Regions from separate parts of the Homo sapiens genome. Here all the other regions are linked to region 3. The links are contacts of gene promoters, found by promoter capture Hi-C in blood cells and fetal thymus (Javierre and others, 2016). All regions are on one chromosome and are shown on one strand. The core of a region is centred on a gene start or on the middle of the fragment in contact, and the rest is flanking DNA. Distances in the headings are between cores, read along the strand shown.

Evidence for each region. The method cuts DNA at HindIII sites, captures the fragments that hold promoters and counts their contacts. A CHiCAGO score of 5 or more calls a contact.
Region 1: a fragment that was not itself captured here is called in contact with the fragment with the promoter of REG4 in region 3 in 5 of 17 cell types (M0 macrophages, M2 macrophages, megakaryocytes and 2 more); the score reaches 13.7 in M0 macrophages.
Region 2: a fragment that was not itself captured here is called in contact with the fragment with the promoter of REG4 in region 3 in 3 of 17 cell types (M1 macrophages, M0 macrophages and M2 macrophages); the score reaches 8.7 in M1 macrophages.
Region 4: a fragment that was not itself captured here is called in contact with the fragment with the promoter of REG4 in region 3 in 1 of 17 cell types (M0 macrophages); the score reaches 5.3 in M0 macrophages.

Annotation. Positions count from the first base shown.
Region 1 is chr1:119,927,246-119,929,945 of GRCh38, forward strand. NOTCH2 (notch receptor 2) reads right to left here. Exons shown (of 34, transcript NM_024408.4): 23 at 1,731-1,967. Among named protein-coding and RNA genes, the nearest start is that of ADAM30, 32 kb to the left of the region's middle. The HindIII fragment of the contact is 484 bases long and covers 1,151-1,634 here.
Region 2 is chr1:119,726,832-119,729,531 of GRCh38, forward strand. It overlaps PHGDH (phosphoglycerate dehydrogenase), which reads left to right. Exons shown (of 12, transcript NM_006623.4): 4 at 20-74; 5 at 173-271. Among named protein-coding and RNA genes, the nearest start is that of PHGDH, 16 kb to the left of the region's middle. The HindIII fragment of the contact is 1,797 bases long and covers 353-2,149 here.
Region 3 is chr1:119,810,181-119,812,880 of GRCh38, forward strand. REG4 (regenerating family member 4) reads right to left here and starts at 1,280. Exons shown (of 6, transcript NM_032044.4): 1 at 1,229-1,280. The HindIII fragment of the contact is 5,277 bases long and covers 320-2,700 here.
Region 4 is chr1:119,704,183-119,706,882 of GRCh38, forward strand. All of the region lies in intron 1 of LOC105378937 (a long non-coding RNA gene), which reads right to left. Among named protein-coding and RNA genes, the nearest start is that of PHGDH, 6.4 kb to the right of the region's middle. The HindIII fragment of the contact is 4,943 bases long and covers 1-2,700 here.

The DNA of each region.
Region 1 (2,700 bases), core at 143-2,642, 120 kb after region 3:
CACAGCTGGGACTCCTGGCCAACAGCAGGAGATAGGCCCCATTTGGCCGGTGGTCACTTGGGAAAGAAGAGGTAGCTTTAAAAATGAAATAAAAATAGTAATGTTTTTGGCCAACGAGATCAAGCAGCAAGAGGTATAAATGTTTGTCTCTTCAAATCACAGCAGCAGCCGCTAACCAAGAGCAGCCACCACATGGACACAGCTTGGTGGACCACCAGTCCCTTGCTGTTTATCTCTGCAACAGCATCCCACAATAACTGTGCTCAATGTATTCAAGGGATTTTTTTTTTTTCATTCACAAATGTGGAAAATGCACAAACACTACTTCCTGGCTGTGGGATACTACTTCAAAGTGGTCTCCATTCCTTCCTTCTCCTGCTTCCCCCTTACTTTGCAAATGCTTGTGTTTCCAGAGAAAAAAGCCTCAGGGGCAATGAAAGAAACAGGAGCCAGTTTTGATGCTTTGGCTTTCAAAGTGCAGTTTGGCCAATACGAGGCTGTAGACAGATTATTCATACTTATTCTGTTCCACATTGCCTCAATAGCTATTATGTTCACAATGGACTATTTCTTTTTTGATGTTAGTGTATCCAGGGAGCTTCCATATTGCAGAATCCCTCCCATTCTTTACAAAATTCCAAGATTGTAAGGTAGCATATCTTTAAAGTTGGAAGGAAAGATGGCTGGAGATGGGCTCAGGATGTAGCAGAGTTCAGCTTGATGAATTGTTTGTAAACAGACTATTAAAGCCTATTTTCTGACTCCTAAGGAATCTGATCACACCCTCCATATAAGAAATACAACTACAGACCCCAGGAAATGCATGATAAATTTCAAATCTGAGTATCCTGCCACATCTGGATACAAACAACTATTTTAGTTCCCAAAAGTCACCATGCTGCCCTCTCCAGAAGTAACTAGTAAGTTCTTGTGATAAGACCCCTATTCTGAGGCAGAGCTTGGTCATCTTCAGGCCCTGTGATGAAAGAAAGAAGCTTGGGAACAGAGTAGGAACATGGCCAAGCCTTTACTGGGCAAGGCATTACTTGTGACCACTGCAACTTTTCATTTCATACCCACATCAACTGATCTTTGGTTAAACACACTTGAATTTGGACCTGCCCCCTTTAAGTATCTAAGCAGGGTCCTAAGCTTCTCTGAGTCCTAGGGGTGGAAAGATCATGGTGGCAGGAACTACCCAGTAATTCAAGCCATCACATGTCAAAGGAGGCAGGGTGAAGAAACCGGAGTTAGACGTAAGGTTCCTTAAAACAAAATGTTATTTTGTTCAGATGAAAAGAGTTCTGTGAATGAATGGGGGTGATAGTAGAACAACAATGTCAATGTACTAAACAATGCCACTGAACTGTACACTGTACACTTTAAAATGATTCAGATAGTAAATTTTAGGTTTTGGATATTTTGCCACTATTAAAAAATGTTATTTTGTTCAACTACTTTCAATATACATTGTAAAAAATATTCCTGCCATAGCATGATATAATCAATGCACAACAAAAGAATCTCTTAGGAAAAATTAAAGGTAGACACTGATCATAACATCCATAAAGTACAGACTAAGAAAAAACTGGCTTTAAAAAATTAAGCTGCTGTTGTTTTTCTTATATAAGAAAAGCTTCACTTGGGTCTGGGACAACTCACAGGGCCCAATTTGTTCACTAAAACCATCCTCCAAGGCAGAGTGGCCAGGAGGCTAGAGAGCTTCTCACCAGTAAAGGCACTACGGCAAACACACAGGTAGTCATTGGTGAGCTGTATACAGTCCAGGCTGCCCTCAGAGCTGCAGGGGTTGGAGAGGCACTCGTTGATGTCTCCCTCACAACGCTCCCCAGCAAAGCCAGGCAAGCAGCGACAACTGTAGCCTCCAATCCTATCCATGCACTGACCACCATTAAGGCAATGGGGACCCCGGGCACAGTCATCAATGTTCTCTTCACAGAGTAGGCCTGGAGGAAAGAGAAGAGGTACAGAATTATGAAAATCCTTTTAACCTGCTTTCCAGCAAGGGATAACCACCCTTGTTGGCATTTTCACAATGAATCAGAGTATACTCCTCAACTGGTAGTGGGACCTTGTAGTTGGGCAGGGCAAAGCACACTCTTTATTCATGACAGCTGTCATCCTGGTGAGTTGTACAAGTAAAGGAAAGAACATACTAGGGCTCCGCATGTACTCTCCCACACAATCCAGTGAAGTAGCACCCTATGGTGTAGGTCCTATTATTTGTCCCATCTCAAAGAGAAGGAAACTGGAGCTCAAGAGAGGCTCAGTAATTTTTCCAAAGTATAATCCAAAATATAAAAACAGTCCAAAAAAGAACATAACAATAAATACAGTTATGCAACCGCATAATGACATTTTAGTCAATGCAGGCAGCACATACGACAGTGGTCCCATAATGAAGCTGAAGCTGACAAATTCCTGTTGCCTAGTAACATCATAGCCTTGTAATGTCATAGCACAATTACTTTTTAAATAAATTCAGTGTAGCTTAGGTGTACAGTATTTACAAAGTCTGCAGTAGTGTACAGTAATGTCCTAGGCCTTCACATTCACTTACCATTCACTGACTCACCCAGCAAGTTCCAGTCTTGCAAGCTCCTTTCATAGTAAATGCCCTATACAGGTGTACTATTTTTTATCTTTTATATTGTATTTTTACTGTACCTTTTAAATCTT
Region 2 (2,700 bases), core at 1-2,500, 83 kb before region 3:
CCTGTGTCTATCCTTGCAGGCAGATTCCCCAGGCGACGGCTTCGATGAAGGACGGCAAATGGGAGCGGAAGAAGGTGAGCAGCGGCCTTGACTCGCCCCACCTGGGCTCAGGGCCCGGGGTCCACTCATGTTGCTGACTTCAGCTTCTTTCCTTTTGCCTGTTTGGTTGCAGTTCATGGGAACAGAGCTGAATGGAAAGACCCTGGGAATTCTTGGCCTGGGCAGGATTGGGAGAGAGGTAGCTACCCGGATGCAGTCCTTTGGGATGAAGGTAAGATGTTGCTGGAACCCTGTGATGTGGGACTTTCTGCAGCAATTTTGGGAAAGGCAGCATGTCTGGGCAGAAGCCAGAAGCTTTGTTCTAGGAGGGTCTGACCCTCTCTTGGAGCCCCCATCTAAATAAGTGTTAAAGTCAAGGAGGGAGAGAACACTGGCCTGCTGATCTGGACTCAAAAGCTGGAAATACTTGGTGGGGGTCCTTTAGCTCTCTGGTGAGTGAATAGCCCTGAGTCCCAGTGAACCAGGTGTTGATGGCTCTTTTGAGACTTTGGTTCCTGTCTTCTTAGTTTAAAAGAATTTAAACAAGAGACACGGTGCAGCATTGAGGAGTTTATTGCAAAGGAAAAAGAATATTTTGAAAGTTAAGTGCAGAGTAGACAGTACACCTCGGGAGAGAGAGAATTCAGGGTGGGCTGCTCATAAGAGTGAGGCAGTGTTGGCCGGGCGCGGTGGCTCACGCCTGTAATCCAGCACTTTGGGAGGCCGAGGCAGGCAGATCATGAGGTCAGGAGATCAAGACCATCCTGGATAACATGGTGAAACCGCATCGCTACTAAAAAAAAAAAAAAAAAAATTAGCCGGGCGTGGTGGCGGGCGCCTGTAGTCCCAGCTACTTGGGAGGCTGAGGCAGGAGAATGGCGTGAACCCGGGAGGCGGAGCTTGCAGTGAGCCGAGATCATGCCACTGCACTCCAGCCTGGGCGACAGAGCGAGACTCCGTCTTAAAAAACAGAAACAAAAACAAAAACGAATGAGGCAGTGTTGATTATTGCTGGAGAAACTCCCTTTATAGGAGTTTTACATGATTATTCATAAGGAGGTGGGAAGAGCTGTTACTAGTAAGCATGTTTTGGGTGGTCCTCTGGGTGCACATGAGTAGTAGCTGTACATTCTTGTTCATTTGGCACATGTCTTATTAGCATCTTAAATCTCCACCCAGGAGTGTGTTTTTTACTATTATAATGAGCCAGGGGGTCAGTTTGAGGACAGGAAAAATCAAAGTGCACAGGCTGTCTAGATGGGAAGTTCCCTACTGAAGATAGCTTTGCTTGAATGAGCTCAGTTAGAATATGAATACCGAGGCTTATTGTGTTGACTATAGGATCACCAAGGTTGCTGCACTTCCTTGATTACCTATCCTGCCTCACAGGGAGGGTGCTTGTGTCCTGCCCATTCTTTCTTTCCTTCCTGCTTTTGTTTTGTCTGCTTTCCTGTGATAATTTAGAAAACAGGAACAAGTTTATGGCCTCACAGTAGAGCCTTACATCCATTGTCCATCTGTCCTTCCAGTTTCCCTCCATATTTCAGAAAAGATTTAAAAGTGCTTGTATGTACACTATGATATGATTGTAGAGCCTATGGTGGCTGGAAGACCTCACACCGGTCTCAGAAATCACACCTAACTCCTGTCTTCCCCCAGGTCTCTGCCTTTTCCTACTCTGGGAGCTCAGTAGGCTTCTGGCTACTCCCTTAGCCTGATTGCAACCCTCTGGTTGCCATCAGTAGCAGTGCCACCCACTTGGGCTAATCCAGGAGACCTTGCAAATGAGAGAGGCAATTCAGCTAAGAGAGGGGATCTGCAGGGCTTCCCAGATAGGCCAAAGAGATGAACCCACTAAGGCTACTATGGGACATCTCTCTGTTCACTTTCTGTTTTAGGGAATTACAGGGATTATGGGGTCAAACTGCAGCCAGGAAGTCTTTAAACATTAGGAGATCAGTTTTGACAACCAGATCATGTCAAATCTAGAAAAGTTTACATAGAGCTGCTATGGAACTCTCCCTTTTTCTACATCCCTCCTACCTTCTTAGAGTTAGAAGGGATCTTAATAGATTAACCCTTAATTTTACATTGACATCTAGAATTTGTAAGCTTATGCCTAAGGACTCATAGCAAATGGACAGTAGCCTAGAGCCTGGTGAGCATCCCATTGTACACATTGAATATTATCCTCTCCCTCCTGCCTCCACTCCCCATCTTATTTATTTAAGTCAGCCAGATATCTTTCCTAAGCCTCTGCACTGAGAAGGGCCAGGTGTATTCTTGATCCCTGGACTCCTGAGAGAGGCAGATGTAGCCCAGCAGGATCATTGATCATGTAAACAAACCACAGCCTTGCCCTCTGTGCAGGGATGGTGGGATGCCATAAGCCACAAAGAGCACTCCCTCCTCCATCCTCTTTTGTAAGGGATCAAGGGTCAAGGTTTAGTCCATGGAGAATTTTGATATAAAAGGCAGAGGTCAGGAGTTAAGTAAAACTAAGAGCACTCATAGCCAAATAGGTGAGCATTTCATTGATGAAGCAGTAACTGGGAGACAGGCTCCAGACCAGTGGCCGTTCCAAGGCTCCTGCCCCCTTCCCCAGGGGGTCCTCTTCCCCATGACTCCCCTTCCCCAGGCTTCCTTCTCCGTGGCACCACT
Region 3 (2,700 bases), core at 30-2,529:
AATTTATATCAAAAGACTGGCCATTACTGTCACATAAGGTTAAAATATTTATCACTGTTCTATTTTCATCTGTCTGGGCTTTGTTTTAACATAAGTATGAAACTGAGTTCTGGATTTCCCTCCCAAATAATTCTTAAAATGAGTTAATTCATTGAATTCACATTTAATCATACTTTATGATTAAAAAATCTGAATATACAATCTAACTCTCAAATAATGGATTGCTTAAAGAGAATAATGTAAATGATGACTTTTCTGGAAAATCAATTCTGGGGTCCATCTGAACACTTTAAGGCAACATTAACTGAGAATGAGACAAAGCTTGGAGAGTGTGGATGTGACCTTCCCCACCCCTTACTTCTTTTTAAATCATTGCGTGAACCTTGCACTTTGCTAAACTTTCCTTCCAAAAGTAATAGTGTATTTTCAATGTCCTCAAACCCCTTTAAAACGCAAACAGAATTTCTCTGTCAAGGTGACCATCTGGGGGAAGGGAGAGGCAGCATCTTTTTTACTAATCTGTGAATAATTTTTAGTGAACTGATATTCATTGAATGTCTGCATGTCATGTTCATAAGTAAGCTGCACTGGGCCGGGTGTGGTGGCTCATGGCTGAAATCCCAGCACTTTGAGAGGCTGAGGCAGGTGGATCACCTGAGGTCAGGAGTTCAAGACCAGCCTGGCCAACATGGCACAACCCTGTCTCTATTAAAAAATACAAAAATTAGCTGGGCGTGGTGGCAAGTGCCTGTAATCACAGCTACTCAGGAGGCTGAGGCAGGAGAATCACTTGAACCTGGGAGGCAGAAGTTGCAGTGAGCCAAGATTGCACCATTGCTCTCCAGCCTGGGAGACAGAGCAAGACTCCATAAAAAAACAAAAACAAAAACAAAAACAGAAACAAAAACAAAAAACCTGCACTGTAGATCTCATGAATGCATGTTACAAATGAAGACACTGACACTTATGATTGAGTAACTTTTCTAAAGTTTCCCAGCTACCAGACTGCAGAGCCAAGATTTAACCCAACAGCTTGACACCAAAGCCAATGCTCTTTGCAGTGAAGGAAGAAAAGAAGGTAAATAATTTAAATCAAACAACACAGCAACAGAAAGCCTGACAAGCCTCACTAGAAATACAATTTGTCATTTCTGGCCTGGCTAATAGCTGACAGAGGAAAACAGATGTTTAAAGAAAGTCCCCCATCATCAACCGCGAGGAGGATTACCTGTTTGGCAACCAAGACTCTAAGGGCCCCTGCCTTCTTCAGTGTCTCCAGTGGTCCCAGTCAACGTTTCTGGAGCTTTTATATCTTCTTGCCTCAGGAATTAATAATCTTTACTTTAGTCACAAAGCGATAATATTATTTGAGAAAAACAATCCATCCATAAAAGTCTTATCTACAGTGAAAAAAATGAATCATATAAGAGACGGCTTCAGAATGTACGTAAGGTGTGCTTTGACTAGCCAGGAAAAGAACCTCTCCCTGTGTGCAAACAGAATCTTTTCTTCACATCACGTTATTAAAACTGACAACATCCTGTAATCTGTTATAAGCCCATCTTCCTCTCCCCTTATGTTACTTTTTCATGGCTGTCTTTTTATGCCTTGGTATGGTGGATTTCCTTTATTTCTCTTTTATTTCTAGAAGGATTTTCTGTCAGGGTCAGGAATAGGTTATGACCCATGCGGTGAGACTTGAGACCCACACACAGATTTTCCTTCCTAAAGCACCGACTCCACTCCTTCAACATGCGTGAGTTTCCTCAGAGATCTACTATTTGAGCTTCTCCCGCAGAACATGGATGATCATGTCAAAATAGCTTACATCAACAGAGTGTGTTACAATAACGGGTTTTCAGTGAAGTCATCAAATAAGATGCCAACAAAATCCTTGTGAGCAGCATAGGACACATATCCCCATTACACACTCAAGAAACCCAACCTTAAGAGAGATTAGAAACCTTCCGAGGTTCACAACACTGGTCAGCAGTGGACCTGGACACTGAACCTTGTCCTTCTGACTCCAAATATAGGTGTTTGCCAAAATACAGTTCTACTGAAAAATAGGCTATTTGAAAAGAGTAACAAGATTTTCTTTTCCAGTATAGATGGCAAAGGGTTAGGTTGTAGGTGCCAGAGATGACTCAACTTTAAACTACAGATTTAAGTCTGTAAAGGACCTTTATGTCTGGAAACTTTAAGTCTGGAAGGGACCATAGTAGTTATCAAATCTTACTCTTTTGTTCTACTGGTGAGGAAATTGAGGCCTAGAGAAACATTGTGACTAGTTTAATGCACAGACAGTTGTGGGTGAAGCTGATATCAGAAGCCAGCTTCCTTGCTCCCAGCTCACTGTTGTTTGGAAAATGCTACTCAACCTTTGTTATTAGATTTTTGCATCAGTTGTGTAAATTCATGGTAGGACATGAGAAAGTAATGCTTTCATGGTTCACAAAGAACATTTTAAAGAATCTCTCCCATCAGAATGTTTGACACAAACCTCTTTCTCTTTAGGCAGCTGGATGGGAATCATCATTGCTTCATGGCACAATGGCGTACAAAGATGTTAACTCCAAGCCTTTCAATTTCAGAAGTCCTGGTCCAGATGTAAGACAGAAAAGTTTTAACAAAATGGGTGATTAGATAGATCTCCTGTGTTTCCAGCAGCCATCCCAACCCTTAGTCTGCTATCCCCAT
Region 4 (2,700 bases), core at 165-2,664, 110 kb before region 3:
TGACTTTCTTGGATGGTTAACTTCCTTCATGATTCATTGATTCTTAGTTTTCACTATCAGAGAGTTGCCTTTTCAAGTTATAGGTGTGTCTTATCCTGTCTTTTCATGTGCCCCACAAGGGAATCACCTCCCTGCTCACCATGATCATCGTCATTGTGATAATGAAAACATGAAAACACTGTGAAATGTAGCTTCTGTGTTAAGGTAGAGTGCTCTGTAAAAAAACTTAGTATTAGTCCCCTCCTTATAATTAACCCATCAATTGTTTCTCATCTACTTAGAATTAAATCTAAACTTCTTCACCATGGTGGAGTAGTCAATGTTGGTGTTCCTTGCCTGTCCTCCAATCCCCATTTCCCTTCTTTCAGCTTCCTGAATTTTCCTCTGGGGACCCACTTTTCTTACAATTTTAGTGTATACTTCAGATAGATGAATTCTTTCCTCAGATCTGAAGTGGTTGCTTTATTCAGGACTGACAAATCTGCATATTCATCCTCCTGGGCACTGTGACTAATCCAAGGACAGATATGTGGCCCAGGGGGATCTGATAAGGATAAGGTCTGGACATTTTGTGGCAATTATTAGAAAACCAGTGCAACACGGTGAAACCCCGTCTCTACTAAAAATACAAAAATTAGCCGGGCATGGTGGCGCGCGCCTGTAGTCCCAGCTACACGGGAGGCTGAGGCAGGAGAATGGCGTGAACCCGGGAGGCGGAGCTTGCAGTGAGTCGAGATCGCGCCACTGCACTCCAGCCTGGGCGACAGAGCGAAACTCCGTCTCAAAAAAAAAAAAAAAAAAAGAAAACCAGTGCAATCTTTTAGGATTGCTAAACTGCTAGACTATGTGGCTGAATTTTATATTCTTTACTAACTTGTGACATTCTTGCCACATTTTGCCTTTCTGGAAATGAAGCAAGCCAGAGGAAAACAGACAGGTGAGAGAGACATGGATTGCCAGTGACACTATCTGAGCAAGTTTTTGTCCACACTTGATCTTTTTGGACAACTGAGCCAATACATTCCCTTTTTTCCTTGAACCAGTTTACACTGGGTTTCTGATACTTGCATCTCCCAAAGTCGAGACTATTCCCATGGTCTCAATGCTGTGGCCCCTGCTGATGTCTCCCACCTTGTCTTCTGCCATGTTCACCCACATTCTCTATATCATTGCTGTTCTGACCTTCTGTCAGTTCCTAGAAAAATCCATGTACTTTCCTACCCAAGGGACTTTGTTTTTATTATTCTCTTTCCTCTAAATGGTCTTCACTGGCTGTCTTCACCTTCAGATCTCTGCCTAAGTGTTACCGTCTCTGAGGCTTTTCTGACACAGACTACACACATAGCACATACATGCTCACACACTAGACTGCAAGTTCCCTATGGGCAGGTAATTTATAGATTCAATGCCATCCCCATCAAGTTACCAATGACTTTCTTCACAGAATTGGGAAAAAGTACTTTAAAGTTCATATGGAACCAAAAAAGAGCCCGCATTGCCAAGTCAATGCTAAGCCAAAAGAACAAAGCTGGAGGCATCACACTACCTGACTTCAAACTATGCTACAAGGCTACAGTAACCAAAACAGCATGGTACTGGTACCAAAACAGAGATATAGAGCAATGGAACAGAACAGGGCCCTCAGAAATAATGCCGCATATCTACAACTATCTGATCTTTGACAAACCTGACAAAAACAAGCAATGGGGAAAGGATTCCCTATTTAATAAATGGTGCTGGGAAAACTGGCTAGCCATATGTAGAAAGCTGAAACTGGATCCCTTCCTTACACCTTATACAAAAATTAATTCAAGATGGATTAAAGACTTAAACGTTAGACCTAAAACCATAAAAACCCGAGAGAAAACCTAGGCAATACCATTCAGGACATAGGCATGGGCAAGGACTTCCTGTCTAAAACACCAAAAGCAATGGCAACAAAAGCCAAAATTGACAAATGGGATCTAATGAAACTAAAGAGCTTCTGCACAGCAAAATAAACTACCATCAGAGTGAACAGGCAACCTACAGACTGGGAGAAAATTTTTGCAATCTACTCATCTGACAAAGGGCTAATATCTAGAATCTACAATGAACTCAAACAAATTTACAAGAAAAAAACAAACAAACCCATCAAAAAGTGGGCAAAGGATATGAACAGACACTTCTCAAAAGAAGACATTTATGCAGCCAAAAGACACATGAAAAAATGCTCATCATCACTGGCCATCAGAGAAATGCAAATCAAAAGCACAATGAGATACCATCTCACACCAGTTAGAATGGCGATCATTAAAAAGTCAGGACACAACAGGTGCTGGAGAGGATGTGGAGAAATAGGAACACTTTTACACTGTTGGTGGGACTGTAAACTAGTTCAACCATTGTGGAAGTCAGTGTGGCGATTCCTCAAGGATCTAGAACTAGAAATACCATTTGACCCAGCCATCCCATTACTGGATATACCCAAAGGATTATAAATCATGCTGCTATAAAGACACATGCACACGTATGTTTATTGCGGCACTATTCACAATAGCAAAGACTTGGAACCAACCCAAATGTCCAACAATGACAGCTGGATTAAGAAAATGTGGCACATATACACCATGGAATACTATGCAGCCATAAAAAATGATGAGTTCATGTCCTTTGTAGGGACATGGATGAAATTGGAAATCATCATTCTCAGTAAACTAT